2 separate regions of the Homo sapiens genome follow, and region 1 is linked to region 2. Evidence: promoter capture Hi-C in 16 types of primary human blood cells and fetal thymus (Javierre and others, 2016). All regions are on one chromosome and are shown on one strand. Each heading gives the region's core, a stretch centred on a gene start or on the middle of the fragment in contact. The rest is flanking DNA. Distances are from core to core; before and after follow the strand shown. Region 1 overlaps RECQL (RecQ like helicase). Region 2 holds the start of CMAS (cytidine monophosphate N-acetylneuraminic acid synthetase).

Region 1 (6,912 bases), core at 2,049-4,548, 560 kb before region 2:
TATTCTATGAAGGCATAATCCTAAATTGTTCATAATATATTCTAAAATGTGAGCTAGATGCAATTGTTATGGTTATAAAGGTGGGTTTTATTAATTTTAACATTATATTTATAATCCCTTTATGTATGTGAACAAAATTTATTATTTATTAACTTCTCAAATGATACCATCAAATCTTTTAATCTCTTTATTTAAATATAAAGACCATGGGGTTTCACAAAGTATCACTCATTAAATTAAGATAATAATAATAAATCTTAAAAGGTAACAGTTATTAGATTCTTAGTACTCATACAATTCTATACAATACTTAGCATATTAGATGTCATTTTTTTTCCTTCTAATCTAAAGAGGACCAAAAAAGTATAAAAACATGCCAGTGAATGAGATAGAAAGAGACAGTCAAACTACTTTCATCATCCCAGCAAAGAAGCAGTTTGTTAACTCCTAGATATATTCTAGGATACAGATGTTCTTTTTTTCTCTCTCCAACTTTCAAGAGTAGGGATATATCATGAACTTGTAATTATCTGCAACTTTCTAAATTACTTTCTATTACTATTATGTTCTTTTTCAATTTTAAGAAAGTACATTATTAGAAGGCAGTTTTCTCCACAGATTGATTTTGTTGGAGGAAGGAGCAGTTATAATAGAATGACATGGAGTTTAAATAAAACAAAAATATATGGGTAAACTAAAGGAACCAGGGCTTCTTAGAGGTATGGCTGACTCTAGGTCTGGGCAGGAAATGCATAAAATGAACATGGATTATCTTACTGCAAAAGAAAGCAAGGAACAGAAGCAATGGGGTTAAGAGAAAGGATTCAGGAACCAACTTAAAGAGGCTCTCACTGCCCAAGGACAGGACTATTTCAGCATTACATATATACATATTGATATATATATATATATGATTCCAAAGGTGAATCATATTATACGTCAAAGCTTGTAAGTTTATAGTGATACTTGGGGAAAGAAAACCTTAAAAATCTTGTTGACCACCTTTGGAGAATGCTAGAAAACCAACTCTTTCTGAAAACTCATAAAGAAAGGGAAAAAAAAATCAAGCATTTTCATCATGCAGAGTTAATGAGGAAAAAGTTTATTTTTGTAGAAAAAGTATAACTAATACATGAAGAAAGAGTGACAGAATTAGATATCACCATTTTGCACCTCCCTAATGAAATCATGGCTCTCACGGTGCCACTCAGTGGCTGCTAAAACCATTAGATGAAAAACTGATAACCAGAGATCAGGCAGACATCACTTGAACCCACTGACGCTTAGCATCACAAAAAGATAACCAGGTACTATGTACCACTTGAGTGATACCACAGTAAGTATACTCTTGCAAAAAAAAAAAAAAAAGTTAAAGAAAAATTCCAAATACAATCAGGCTTTTAGATCTAACTAAAAGGATCCAGTTACCTATGTAACAAACCTGCACATCCTGCATATGGACCCCAGAACTGAAAAAAAAAAAAAGAAAAAGAAAGAAAAGAAAAGAAAGAGAGAAAGAAAGAACACCACAAGGACGCAATCAGGAAAATGTAGAAAGATACAGGACAGTTAACCCAGTTTCTTCAACAAAGAATTTGCATGGGAAATATAAAAGATATAAAGAGAACCTATGGGTATATCAACCAAATACAATACAATGCATGAATATTATCTGGGCTATATTTTTTTTTAAAAAAAACATAAAAATGAGATAGAAATCTGAATTTTTTTTATAATTCTAAAGAATTGATTAAACTTCTTAGATGTGATGATGGCACAGCACTTTTCTTTAAAGTTAGAGATACGTACTGAAGAATTTACAATTAAAATATGATGTCTGGAATTTGTTCTGAATAAATAAACTAAGAGGAAAGGGGTAGGGAAAACTGGAGGTATACAGATTAAAAAAAAAGATTAGCCGTATGTTGATAACTGTTGAAGGGGGAAATGGCTACATGGCAGTTTTTATGCTATTCTCTCTCCTTTTGAAGATTTCAGTAATATGCTTTTTAAAAAAGAATAGCTGGGAAATGCTTTATTCTACAGATGAGGGTAAGACAGTCCATTCCTAAATACAAGAAATTCCACAGGTATAGGGTAACTTCTTAATAATTCATATTTCATATTTAATTACACTGCATAATTAGCAATTCTCCCTTACTATTTTAGAATGGATAATACAAAACAGGTCAGCAAATGTTTCCTGTAAAGTATCAGACAAAAATATTAGGTTTTATGGGCTATAAGGTCTCTATCACAACTACTCCACTGTGCCATTATACTGTAAAAGCAGCCATAGACAACATGTCAACAAATGAGCATGGTGGTGTTTCAATAAAACTTTATTTATGGATACTGAAACTTGAATTGCAAATAATTTTCCCATTTCACAAAATATTCTTTTTAGATTTTTTTTAGCCATTTAAAAATATAAAAACCATTCTTAACTCATGGGACATACAAAAATAGACAGTGGGCCAGAACTGGCCAAGAGCAGTAGTTTGTAACTCCTGATATAAATAGTTAACAGTTTATAATTTTATAAGCAACTCAACTGCAGGTAAAGCTCCTATTTCAGTGAATAGTTTACATTAAAAAAAAAAAAGCCACTGAAACATACCTTAGAACTAGAAGCATTTAACATGGTTGCTGAAATTCCTAATTGTTTTAAAACCATTAATTGGTCTTCCATAAGAGAGATCAATGGGCAAATGACGAGTGTAAAACCTAAAAGAGAAAAAAAAAAAAATCTACCTTAAACTTTACACCACCCTCAGAATCAGATGCAAACCATTCACGTTTTTTTTTTTTTTTTTTTTTTTTTTTTTTAGAGATGGAGTCTCACTCTCTTGCCCAGGCTAGAGTGCAGTGGTGCGATGTTGGCTCATTGCAACCTCTGCCTCCCGGGTTCAAGCAATTCTCCTGCCTCAGCCTCCCGAGTAGCTGGGACTACAGGCACCTGCTGCCATGCCTGGCTAATTTCTTTTGTATTTTAGTAGGGACAGGGTTTCACTGTGTTGCCCAGGCTGGTCTCAAACTCCTGAGCTCAGGCAATCTGCCCACCTTGGCCTCCCAAAGTGCTAGGATTACAGGCATGAGCTACCACGCCCGGCCCATTCACCTTCTTAACTTGTGGGCACTGGCCATCAATTCAGATTAATTTTTAATGCAGCTTTAGTAAAGCTTACTTCTTACTCTCATTAATTAGATATGAATAAATGACCAAACAAGGTAAGTAGAAGCCAAATAAACATACAACTAAACAGAACTCTATCCTTATAAAAATAAAGACAGATTTTTATCATTTCAAATGTTTAATTTGCTATCGTTTTAAATAATCACTATTGGTAATTTCAGTAAGACAACATATATCAGTTCAAACACTAAACAGTTTCATCAGGGAAAAATCACTATAAAGCTTTCCAAAAAAACCAGATTTTTAATTATACAGTAGTGTGTATAATTAAACATGATAGTTGCATAAGCATTCTTTTACTTTTTGTACGAGATTCATTTATGCTGAGTAGAAATCAGTGAACAGTTTACTGTCTGAATGAAGTTATAGTAATATGCCCCCTTCCTTATAATTGAAACTGTTTAAAGTACAAAAGCTATTCTACAGTTAAAATTATATATGGCTTTACGTTTCTGTAGTTTGTTTCTTAAAACAACCTTTGGCAAAGAGCAGACATGTTTAAAAAACATAATCAAATTAAGACCTTATTAGGGATTTTTCCCAGTCAATTATTCTCTCTCCTATTATTTTCACTTTTCCTTACTAGCACCTACTCATTACATTTAAACATGGTCAAGTCCCTCTCATCTTGGAAAACACCCACTATGGTCTGAAAGTTGGTATCCCCACAGAAGTGATTAAGTAATGAGGGCTCTGCTTTCATAAGTGGGATTAATGCCATTTTACAAAAAGTTGAAGGGAGTGCCCTTTCTTTGCCGCCATGTGAGGGTGTAGCAAGAAGGTGCCATCTATGAGAAACACCCCCTCTCTAGACACCGAAATCTATTAGCATCTTGATCTTGGACTTCCCAGCCTCCAGAACTGCAAGCAGTAAACTTCTGTTGTTTGTTAATTAACTGATATAAAGTATTCTGTTACAGCAGCTGGAATAGACTAAGATAACATCTCATTTATGGCCCACTCTCTTCTTCCCTTCATAGTCATTCTTTTCCAAAGAGAATCCCATACTCACCAGTTCCACTTCCTCAATTCCTACCTGCTTCAAACCATTGCTATTTGGTCTCCACCCAACCATTTCAATAAAATTGCTCTAGCTAAGGTCATAGATGAGTCCTTTGTCATTAAACTCATTGAAACTTACATCCTTACGTATTTGACATTTTGCTAACAGACATCACTATTAACTACTCCCTCATTCAAACACACCCTTCCCTAGCCTTCTAATAACATCATACAATCCTGGTTATCCTATATGTTGCTACTCTTTCTCAGCCTTGTCTGCAAGCCCTTTTTCTCTGTTTATCCCTAAACTCTTGGTGTTCTGGTTTCTGTTCTAGGCCTTCTTTTCTTCTTATGCTGCTCTGAAATTCATTCCAATGGCTTCAGTGGCCATCTCCACACTAACAACCCCCAACTCAGACCTCTAACACCAGGCTTTAGACACAAACATCCTCCTACTCATAGGACAATTCCACCTGGATGTCTTAAAGGCATCGTAAATTCAACATGTCCCAAATAAATTCATCATCTTTCCCCTCTCCATTCCCAAGAGTTCTTTCGCCAATGTACCCCATTTCAGTGAAGAACCTCACCACTTGTCCAAGCCTAAAATTTGAGTATCATTCTTGACTCTTCTTTCTCCTTTCCCCCCAAGCAATAAATACCAAGTCCCATTGAATCTATCTTCCAGATGTATCTGGAATTCATCTAACTGCTAGAATTATCCTTCTAAACCATGAAATAATGAGTCTCTTACCTGTGTAAAACTCTTCAATGGCTTCTTGCTAAAATAAGGAAAAGTTTTAAAAATAAGACTCTTTCCACATGTCTTACCACTGACTGCCACATAGAAATTCCTCCAGGTTACTGAATACATCATAATGTGAATGTTCTCTCTTGCTTTTGGATCTCAAGTATTGCTTTTCTGAATGAACACTCTTCCTTCCCTGTCCCTTCTGCCTACTCACCCTTTAAACTTTAGCTTAAATGCCACTTCCTCAGAACAGCTTTCCCTGACAGCCCCTAGACCAGATCTTTGTACAGACTTAATTCCCTATTAAAACCTTTATCCCAAAATTCTTATTGCAATTGCTTGCAATTACCTGTATTCTCTAAACCAGGGATCAACAAAGTAAGGGCTGGTTGCCTATTTTTGTAAGTTATTTTAATGGAACACAGCTACACCCATGTGTTTACACATTATCTGTGGCTGCTTTTGTGCTACAATGGCAGGGTTGAAGAGCTGCCAAGGAGACCATATGGACCACAAGCCTATATTATTTACTATCTACCCTTTCAAGAAAAAGCTTGCTGATCCCTTGCTACTACCCAATCAGTAATATCAGTAGCACTAGCGAACTTGTTAGAAATGCAGGATCTTTGGTCTCACATAAAATCAGAATCTGCACATAATCAAATTCTCAGGTGATTCTTATGTACACTAAAGTCTGAGAAAGTGCTACTCTACACTATGAGTTCTGTGAAAACTAAGACCACGCCCATTTTGCTCACTACTGTGTCTCCCAGTGCCTAGCACCATGGCAGACACTCAGTAAAGATCTGGGACTAGAATTCAGGTCTACTGATTCTTCTTCCAGAGCTGCTTCTCCTACAACATTTTTGGGTTTTTTTGCCCCTTGTATCTTCTGTTCAAGTGTTCTATAGCACTGTAGGGTGAATATGGTTAACAATAATTTAGATAGGGTTTCGAAAAGCTAGAAGAGAGGATTTTGAATGTTCAGTACAATATGTTTTTAAATTTATGTTTCAGGAACCAGATAAAAGGATTAATCTCAGAAGTTTTTAAAACTCCTCCTTTAGGGAGAGAGGAGGGCAAGGGCTGAAAAACTACCTAGCAGGTACTATGTTTACTACTTGGACGATGGATCATTAGAAGTCCAAATCTCAGCATCACACAATATACCCATGTAACAAACCTGCACATATACCCCTGAATCTAAAATAAAAAATAAATAAAATTCCTCCTTTAAGTGAAACTTTAAATTTCTATTAATATAGAAGAAATCAAACAAAAATGCACTTGATTTTTATATATGTATGATTATAAATTATTTTTTAAAAGAATTAAAAAGGTATGATGACAAAGCACTTCTTCAACTCAAAATTAATTTTTTTAGTACATACCATCTGAACATAATGCTGGTAACTGGTAACATAAGCTCTTTCCACCTCCTGTAGGCATAACAAGAAATACCTCCTTTCCAGCCATTGTTACGTTAATAGTTTCAAGCTGAAGTGGTCTGAACTTTTCCAGTTTAAAGACATTTTGCAGAATATCTTTAACTTTACCAGACCATGGAAAATCTAGGAAAAGAAAGTTAAGAATCAGACAAACATGTAAGACTATTATAGAAGTTTGATAAGAATGAGACAAACATATATAAGACTTCTAATACTTATAGACCATTAAACTTTTATGATAATAGTTTTGAGATTAACTCACTAGCTAAGCAAAGCAAAAACAAGTTAAATGATGTATTATAAGACATAGTAGGCATGGTGGCTCATGCCTATAATCTCAACAGTTTTGGGAGGCCTAAGCAGGAGGATTACTTGAGCTCAGGAGTTCGAGACCAGCCTGAGCTCAAGCGATGGCAAGACTCTATCCCTATAAAAAAATTTTTTTTAAAGTAGCCAGGTGTGGTTCTGTGCACCTGTAGTCCCAGCTACTAAGGAGGCTGAGGAGGGAGGATTGC
Region 2 (6,811 bases), core at 1,809-4,308:
GTATATTCTGCTTCAGTCATAGTGACTCACTTCAAGTTTCCTAAATCATCATGTAGTCTCATTCCTCTGCACCTTGCACAATGCCATTCCCTCAGCTGAGGTCTTTTTTGTACTTTAACAATCTTTCAAGAGTCATCTCAGCAAAGAAAAGTTTTACTCTAGCCTAAATACCTCCCTCTGTGCTTGCCTACCTCATGTACACTTTTTCACAGCACAAATCACACTCTACTGGGGTGTGCCTGTCTCCCTGTCATAATGCTAAGTTCGCTGCCTTTCACCTCTTGGTTTGGTATTTTTAACGTGTAGCACAGAGCCTGGCTTTTGGAATGCAGTGAATGTGAACAAATGAGTGAGTCAAAGGACTCCTCTGTATACAAAGTTTGTTTACATACAAAATCATAAAACAAGAGATAATATAAGGATATATTCTTTCACAATAAATACGAATGAATTATTCTTCAGCAGCAACACTTCATACTGATCTTTAAAGGAAAGATGACCGAATATTTGCTTTGAGAGTAGTTTATTTTGTTCCTCAAAACTAATCCAAAGAAAAAGACAGGATAACCCATCCTCTTCCTCTTCCTGGAACAATCATTCTCTCTTTGGACTAAGTAAAAATATTGTAAAAGAGTAAACTCTAATTTCATTTTTTAAAATTCATCAAATTTCTGTGTGCCATATGCTGAACTAGATGCATCACCTTCCCCTTCTACTACCACCACCTCTCTCTCTTCCTTTGTCTCCGTCTCTCAAGATTGGGAGTAGCTAAGTGTCAGGTCTAATCAAAATTGTGCTGTAACCATACAAAGGATATAAAATGCTTTATTATCATAAGTTTGCAACTATATTTTAAAAAGCATGCGTGGGCAGAGACTGAAAAAGTAATATGAGAGGCAGTTCACCAATGTTTACTGAGCAGTACTGTGACCCATGCATTGTTCTGGATGAGAAGATTACAAAGAAGGAACAGTCCCTCTCCTGGAAGAGTTCAAAGTCTCTTGGTATTTATGTAAATCGCTATAATCTCATTTGATAAGTAACAGTGGTGCCACTTGCTCTGTTCCCAGCTTAGAGGACACCAATATGCCCCAGGAGTCAAAACTACTCAGGTGTCTGTGGTCCACTAGGATTTATGGGCCTGTAGGGAATTACTGTGGAGAAGGGCAACTAAATCATTAATAGGAATCAAGATTGTTATTGGGGTGTAGTAGGGGTCCTCACATGACTACCAAAAGCTCAGTGCTGGTGTCTCTGAGGCACAGCAACTGCAAAGGCCCTACTCAAAGAGCCAGTGTATGGGGGCAAGTTGTCCCCTTGCCCTTCAGTGCTGGAATGGCTCATAGAGCCTGCCCCTTTCCCAAGCATGGCATTGATGTCTGCTCACAGCCTCCCTTATCTGTGTCTGCACGAAGCACCTTCTTCCAGCACCAGTCCCAGGAAGGGCTGGGCCCTCAGTTAATTCACAGACTAAGAGATGTAAAGTATCCAGTACCTCTCATAGGACCCAAAACATCAAAGACTTCTTCTCTCCCCTCAAAAATGGCCAAGACCTGAGAAGTACAAAATCCTTTTGCCCTCTGGGAGAAGGCAAGCCGACACACTACAATCCATTCTTTCTGTTTGTATCAGCCTCCATCTCAGAAATGTAAAAGACTCTACTTCCAAATATAGGCTTGCAAACATGCTGAAAGACAAAATGCATGCTAGGTCAGAGATGCCTGCTTTAAAGTCTCTTTTTTTTTTTTTCCTAAGAGAGGTGTGTGTGGGTGTATGTCTTTGAGCCTCTTGGCTGGATCAGGGTTTAAATGCTCAGGCGTGGCGGCTCATGCCTATAATCCCAGCACTTTGAGAGGCTGAGGCGGGCAGATCACTTGAGGTCAGGAGTTCAAGACCAGCCTGGCCAACCTGGTGAAACCCCCAACTCAACTAAAAATACAAAAATTATCTGGGTGTGGTGGTGCCCCTCTGTAATCCCAGCTACTCAGGACGCTTGAGAATGGGTGGCAGAGGGTTGCAGCGAGCCGAGATTGTGCCACTGCACTCCAGCCTTCTGGGGGACACAGTGAGAATCTGTCTCAAAAAAAAAAAAGAGTTTAAATGATGCCTCCAGAATTCTTTCTCTTTAATCCCTACATGTCATTGTTCTGCTTCCTCAGGGAGAACATCAGTCTTCCAGCCCATTTCAGAACAGCAAAGCCCCCCTGCCGCCCTACCCTACCCTTGCCCTGAGGCTTCAGGTTAACAAGGTCCTTAGCACCCAGTCAGCACGAGAAAGATCCTTTCTTTCCAAGACTCTCTGGAAAGGACTCCAGTGGGCTCTGCTTGGTCATATGCCTGTCCCTAGACCACAGGTGTGTTAAGGAAAATGGGGTGCGTAGATGGACCAGCTTGGGTCACACACAGTGCAGAGAATGTGAGGGAAACCCTCACCGGATGAGAGAGGGATCAATTCCTAAAAGGAAAAGATTTTTAGCAGACAACAAAACAAAACCAAAAAACCAAGTGTCGGCCACACTAGAGGTGACCAGTAAAGCTGACTTCCAAATTTCTGCTGCTAGGGAATGCTGATGTCGATCAAAGTGCGGAGAGCATATGAAAAATGGAGTTTTTAAAACGTTGAGTTTAAGGCGCCTGTAGGATATTTGAATGAGCTGGTCAGTAATTTCTTGGAAAAAATGACCCAGGGGCATTAAAAAAAGGTGTATGTTTAAAATGTACATTTTAAAATATAAAATGGATTCGTGTCAGGGTGCATCAAGGTATGCAACGGGAAACCCACCACAATTCTAAAGTGGGGAAGTTCTTCAGCAATTATAAATACTTTTTTTCTTTTTTAATTTTAGAAATTTACAGACACTTGCAAGCACCCCAAAAGCCGCACTTCCTCCAAATATCTCTGGACTCCCACTGCTTGACTTAGTTTTGGGGTCACCTCATCAGAGCCTACTTGGCCTACTGGCCCCAGACGAGGCGGCCGCGGACTACAATTCCCAGCGAGCACCGCGAGGGGCGGGGGAGGGGGCGGGGCGAGGGACGGCCGCGCGCGCCAGCTGCCAGGCGGGGATCGGGCGGCGCCGAGCTGAGGTGGTGAGGGACTAGCTCCCGGATGTGGAGAAGCTGGGGAGAAGGCGTGGGAGGAAGATGGACTCGGTGGAGAAGGGGGCCGCCACCTCCGTCTCCAACCCGCGGGGGCGACCGTCCCGGGGCCGGCCGCCGAAGCTGCAGCGCAACTCTCGCGGCGGCCAGGGCCGAGGTGTGGAGAAGCCCCCGCACCTGGCAGCCCTAATTCTGGCCCGGGGAGGCAGCAAAGGCATCCCCCTGAAGAACATTAAGCACCTGGCGGGGGTCCCGCTCATTGGCTGGGTCCTGCGTGCGGCCCTGGATTCAGGGGCCTTCCAGAGGTGCGCATGTGCGAGAGTGGGCGGCGCGGCCTGGGCGGGGGTCGGGAGAGGGAGTCGGGCTGCTGGAGGGGCTGGGGCCTCCGGGGCCACCGCTCTTGGAAGGGGGCCATCTCTCATGCCAGGGATGTGCAAGATCCGGGGTGCCTGGGGCCGGGCTGAGAGCCCAGGAGGAAGGGCTCCAGCTCCTTCCTTGTTCCGTAGCTGCCAATGGTCATAACCTGGGACAGTTCCTGTCTCCGCCCTTGAGAATCATCCGTAAAAGGGGAGATTACACCTCCCCAACCGTCCCCTCCTCCCGGGTTGACCTTACGGGGAAAAGTAAAGGAGGCCACCCCGGTGCAACATCTGTGATAATATGTGAACTTCTTTGGATGGGGGCCATCGAAGCTCCCCTGTTGCTCAGCCTCTGATAACTGCTTGGTGCTGCTCGATTAGGGAGGCATCAGGTTCATGAATGGAGTTGAGTGTCGGGGTGTCAGAGCTGAATTTCAAGCTCAGCTTGGAGATCTTTTCCTAACCTTTGAAAAATACTCCAGCTATCTTCCTGTGAGTCAGCACAATCTAGAAAACTCCCTACATTTATAAATACGTGAGACTCAGTGGGAAGGTGTACAACTGACTGTTTTATGATATATTAATACTTACAAATCATTTAATCATACCTTTGGAACCTCGCCTGCCCTATGGACAGTTTTAATTATGCGTAATTTAGATACATTGCCAAATTGGTCAGGAGTTACAAGCTGATGTTATTCATAAAAGAAGGGAGATCGAATTCTGTGCCAAGAATGAATTTACACATATAGCTTCAACCTAACTACATTTGAATGTGTTGTTATTGTGGAAATTAATTTATGTTAACCTTTTGATGTTTCGATTTTTAAAGAGATGACTGTTTTTGAAGTCATCTCTTTTTCTTTTTGAACCTATATTTGCTTACCCATATTAATATATGGGTAAATGATTTTCATTTAACCAGTCTTGTTCAAAAACGGGAGATGCCAAAAAAGTATAAATATACTAATTTTCTTAATGTTTCAACCCAAAAGAAGTCCTGGATGGACCAAGGCAAATAGGAGCCACCACTCAGAAGATAACACTAGTGCAATAGGAAGTGTGCGAAGGAGAGATAGGGAAGGACCTGGGGATTTTGTTCAATTCAGTAGCTATTTACTGAGCCCTAATTTCTGCTATACATGTCCAAGGGAATACCAAGATGATTGGGACACAGTTTTTGTCCTTGTGAAGCTCACAAACTTTGGGATATTTTTACATTCTTAGAAAGGGTACAAACTAAAAAGGACTGAGAGAAGTAGGTGCATCCAGACTGCAGTAATATAGTGAAATATCATTTTTGTGAAATGAACTAGAGATCAAAATCATATTCACAGTAAATGGAGAACAAAACTGTTAATACCATTTACAACTCTTAGGTTGTATATATCAGGAAACCCTGTTCAAACTGGCATAACAAAAGAGGGAAAGGCTTATTAAGGTACAGTCAGATTCAAGGACAAAAAAATGATTCATTCATTCAGCATACTTACTGCCTACCTACTATGTAACAGGCACTGTTGTATGTACCGAACCACGTGTAGTAGCAGTAGAGACAGCCCTTAGTCTCATAGAGCTTACGTTATAATAAGGAAAGACATGCAGTATACAAGAACATTAATGTGTGTTGTATCACGTTATGATAAATATTTTTAAGAAAAAGTAAAGCAGGATAAGAGGATGGTGCACTTTGTTGCCAGAATCCTCAATTTCTTAGCTCTGGATAGACCCTTTATGGTTTCAAGGTGGTTGTACTGAGAACTGCAGAACTCTCAGGGTACCTAATGACTTGCTCCAAACCTCTGCTCCAAGAGACTTGACCAAGCCCTAGCATGGCTTCTAGCAGCTTAAGGCCATGTCCCTAGGATGATCTCAGGTTCCCTTAAAATGGCTTCCTGAAGAGGCTCAAAGCTGCCAGAATTTCCTGATTGTTCCAGGAAAAACCTGGTGAGAGGCCCCTGAACCCTCTTTTAGAGCAATTAGTTTAGAAAGCTTGCAATTATAAAAACTTTCCCTGCCTTTTGAGATGTAAATCTACCACACAAAACTGTTTCCTCAAGGACCTGGGAGCCCCAGAACCCTGTCTCAGTGAAATGCGAACATTCTAGGAAATAACTCTTACTCTCCTTCCTAGTCCCTCTGGGAAGATAAAGGGCAAAGTTCAGTGGACACCTTGCTTCAACTTGCTCAGTTGCCTTGTCTCATAAGGATAGAAGATTGTTTCTCTTCCAGATAAGCGCTAGTTAACAAATCCATATGGCCTAGTCACACGGACTAAGCCCTGTTAGCACCCCTCAGTGCCTTTCCCTTAGCACAACTCAGCCTTTAAAGTCTCCAGCCTTTCGTTTTCTGGGGCTGTGAATGCAATTCACATTGGACTCTTTTCCCTGTTGCAGTAGTAACAGAATACAATCTGTCCTTAACACTTTAGTCACCGATTTTGTGTGTCTTTGATAGCAGTCCTCATATTCTTACAGGTTTAAATGTAAGTCAGAAGGAGTGCTCTCCTCGAAGCTCGAAGTTTCATTGTGCCTCATTGGGTACCCTGCTCATTCTTCAACCAGTCACTATGGCAAGAGGAACATAGTGCTTGTATTGCTACAGTATAGCTTCATCTTCCACTCTTGAAACCAGCGATGGAGCCCCCGCTGAAAAACATGACAGGTTCATCAAGAGGAAAATTGGAGTACAATTACCAAAAGTGAGGGGGAATAGATTCTGTTGGTCAGAACCCAACAACCAACCATTACAGCAGGCATTGGGGATTTTGCTATGAAATGATTGGAAAATATGTATATATATTGACCAATGATTTTCCCATTTCCACATTTTAGCATTTGTACAAAACTTCTTTTAAAAAAAGACTCTAGTATCAACCTTTTCTGTACCAAGTAGTTTTATTTAATACTTCTAGACTAGAGTGTAAACTCATTGACCACAGGGATAATGTTTTATACTTCTTCAAGCCACCTGTGGTATCTGTCACTATATCAATGGTGGCGATTAGAAGAAATAAAATTGGCTGGGCTCACACTTGTAATCCCAGCACTTTAGGAGGCCGAAGGCAGGCGGAGGCCAGGAGTTGAAGACCAGCCTGGCCAACATGGCGAAACCCCATCTCTACCAAAAATACAAAAATTAGCCAGTTGTGGTGGTGCATGCCTGTAATCCCAGCTACTCAGGAGGCTGAGGCAGGGGAATCACCTGAACCCGGGAGGTGGAGGTTGCAGTGAGCCGAGACTGGACCACTGCACTCTAGCCTGGGCAACAGAGCAAGACTCTGTCTCAAAAAAAAAAAAAAAATTTTTTTTCTAAACTAGCAAAATGAATGTATTTCTAACTTAACAGTATCA

Evidence for each region. Contacts are between HindIII fragments. The CHiCAGO score rates a contact against its expected background, and 5 or more counts as called.
Region 1: a contact is called between a fragment that was not itself captured here and the fragment with the promoter of CMAS in region 2, in 4 of 17 cell types (non-activated CD4 T cells, total CD4 T cells, megakaryocytes and 1 more). The highest score is 8.8, in non-activated CD4 T cells.

The regions. Positions count from the first base shown.
Region 1 is chr12:21,483,859-21,490,770 of GRCh38, forward strand. It overlaps RECQL (RecQ like helicase), which reads right to left. Exons shown (of 15, transcript NM_002907.4): 4 at 6,341-6,520; 5 at 2,621-2,727. Among named protein-coding and RNA genes, the nearest start is that of RECQL, 14 kb to the right of the region's middle. The HindIII fragment of the contact is 235 bases long and covers 3,182-3,416 here.
Region 2 is chr12:22,043,160-22,049,970 of GRCh38, forward strand. CMAS (cytidine monophosphate N-acetylneuraminic acid synthetase) reads left to right here and starts at 3,059. Exons shown (of 8, transcript NM_018686.6): 1 at 3,059-3,404. The coding sequence starts at 3,145. RefSeq lists enhancers at 2,876-3,170, 3,486-4,191, 5,152-5,757 and silencers at 2,943-3,312, 2,956-3,183. The HindIII fragment of the contact is 10,395 bases long and covers 1-5,448 here.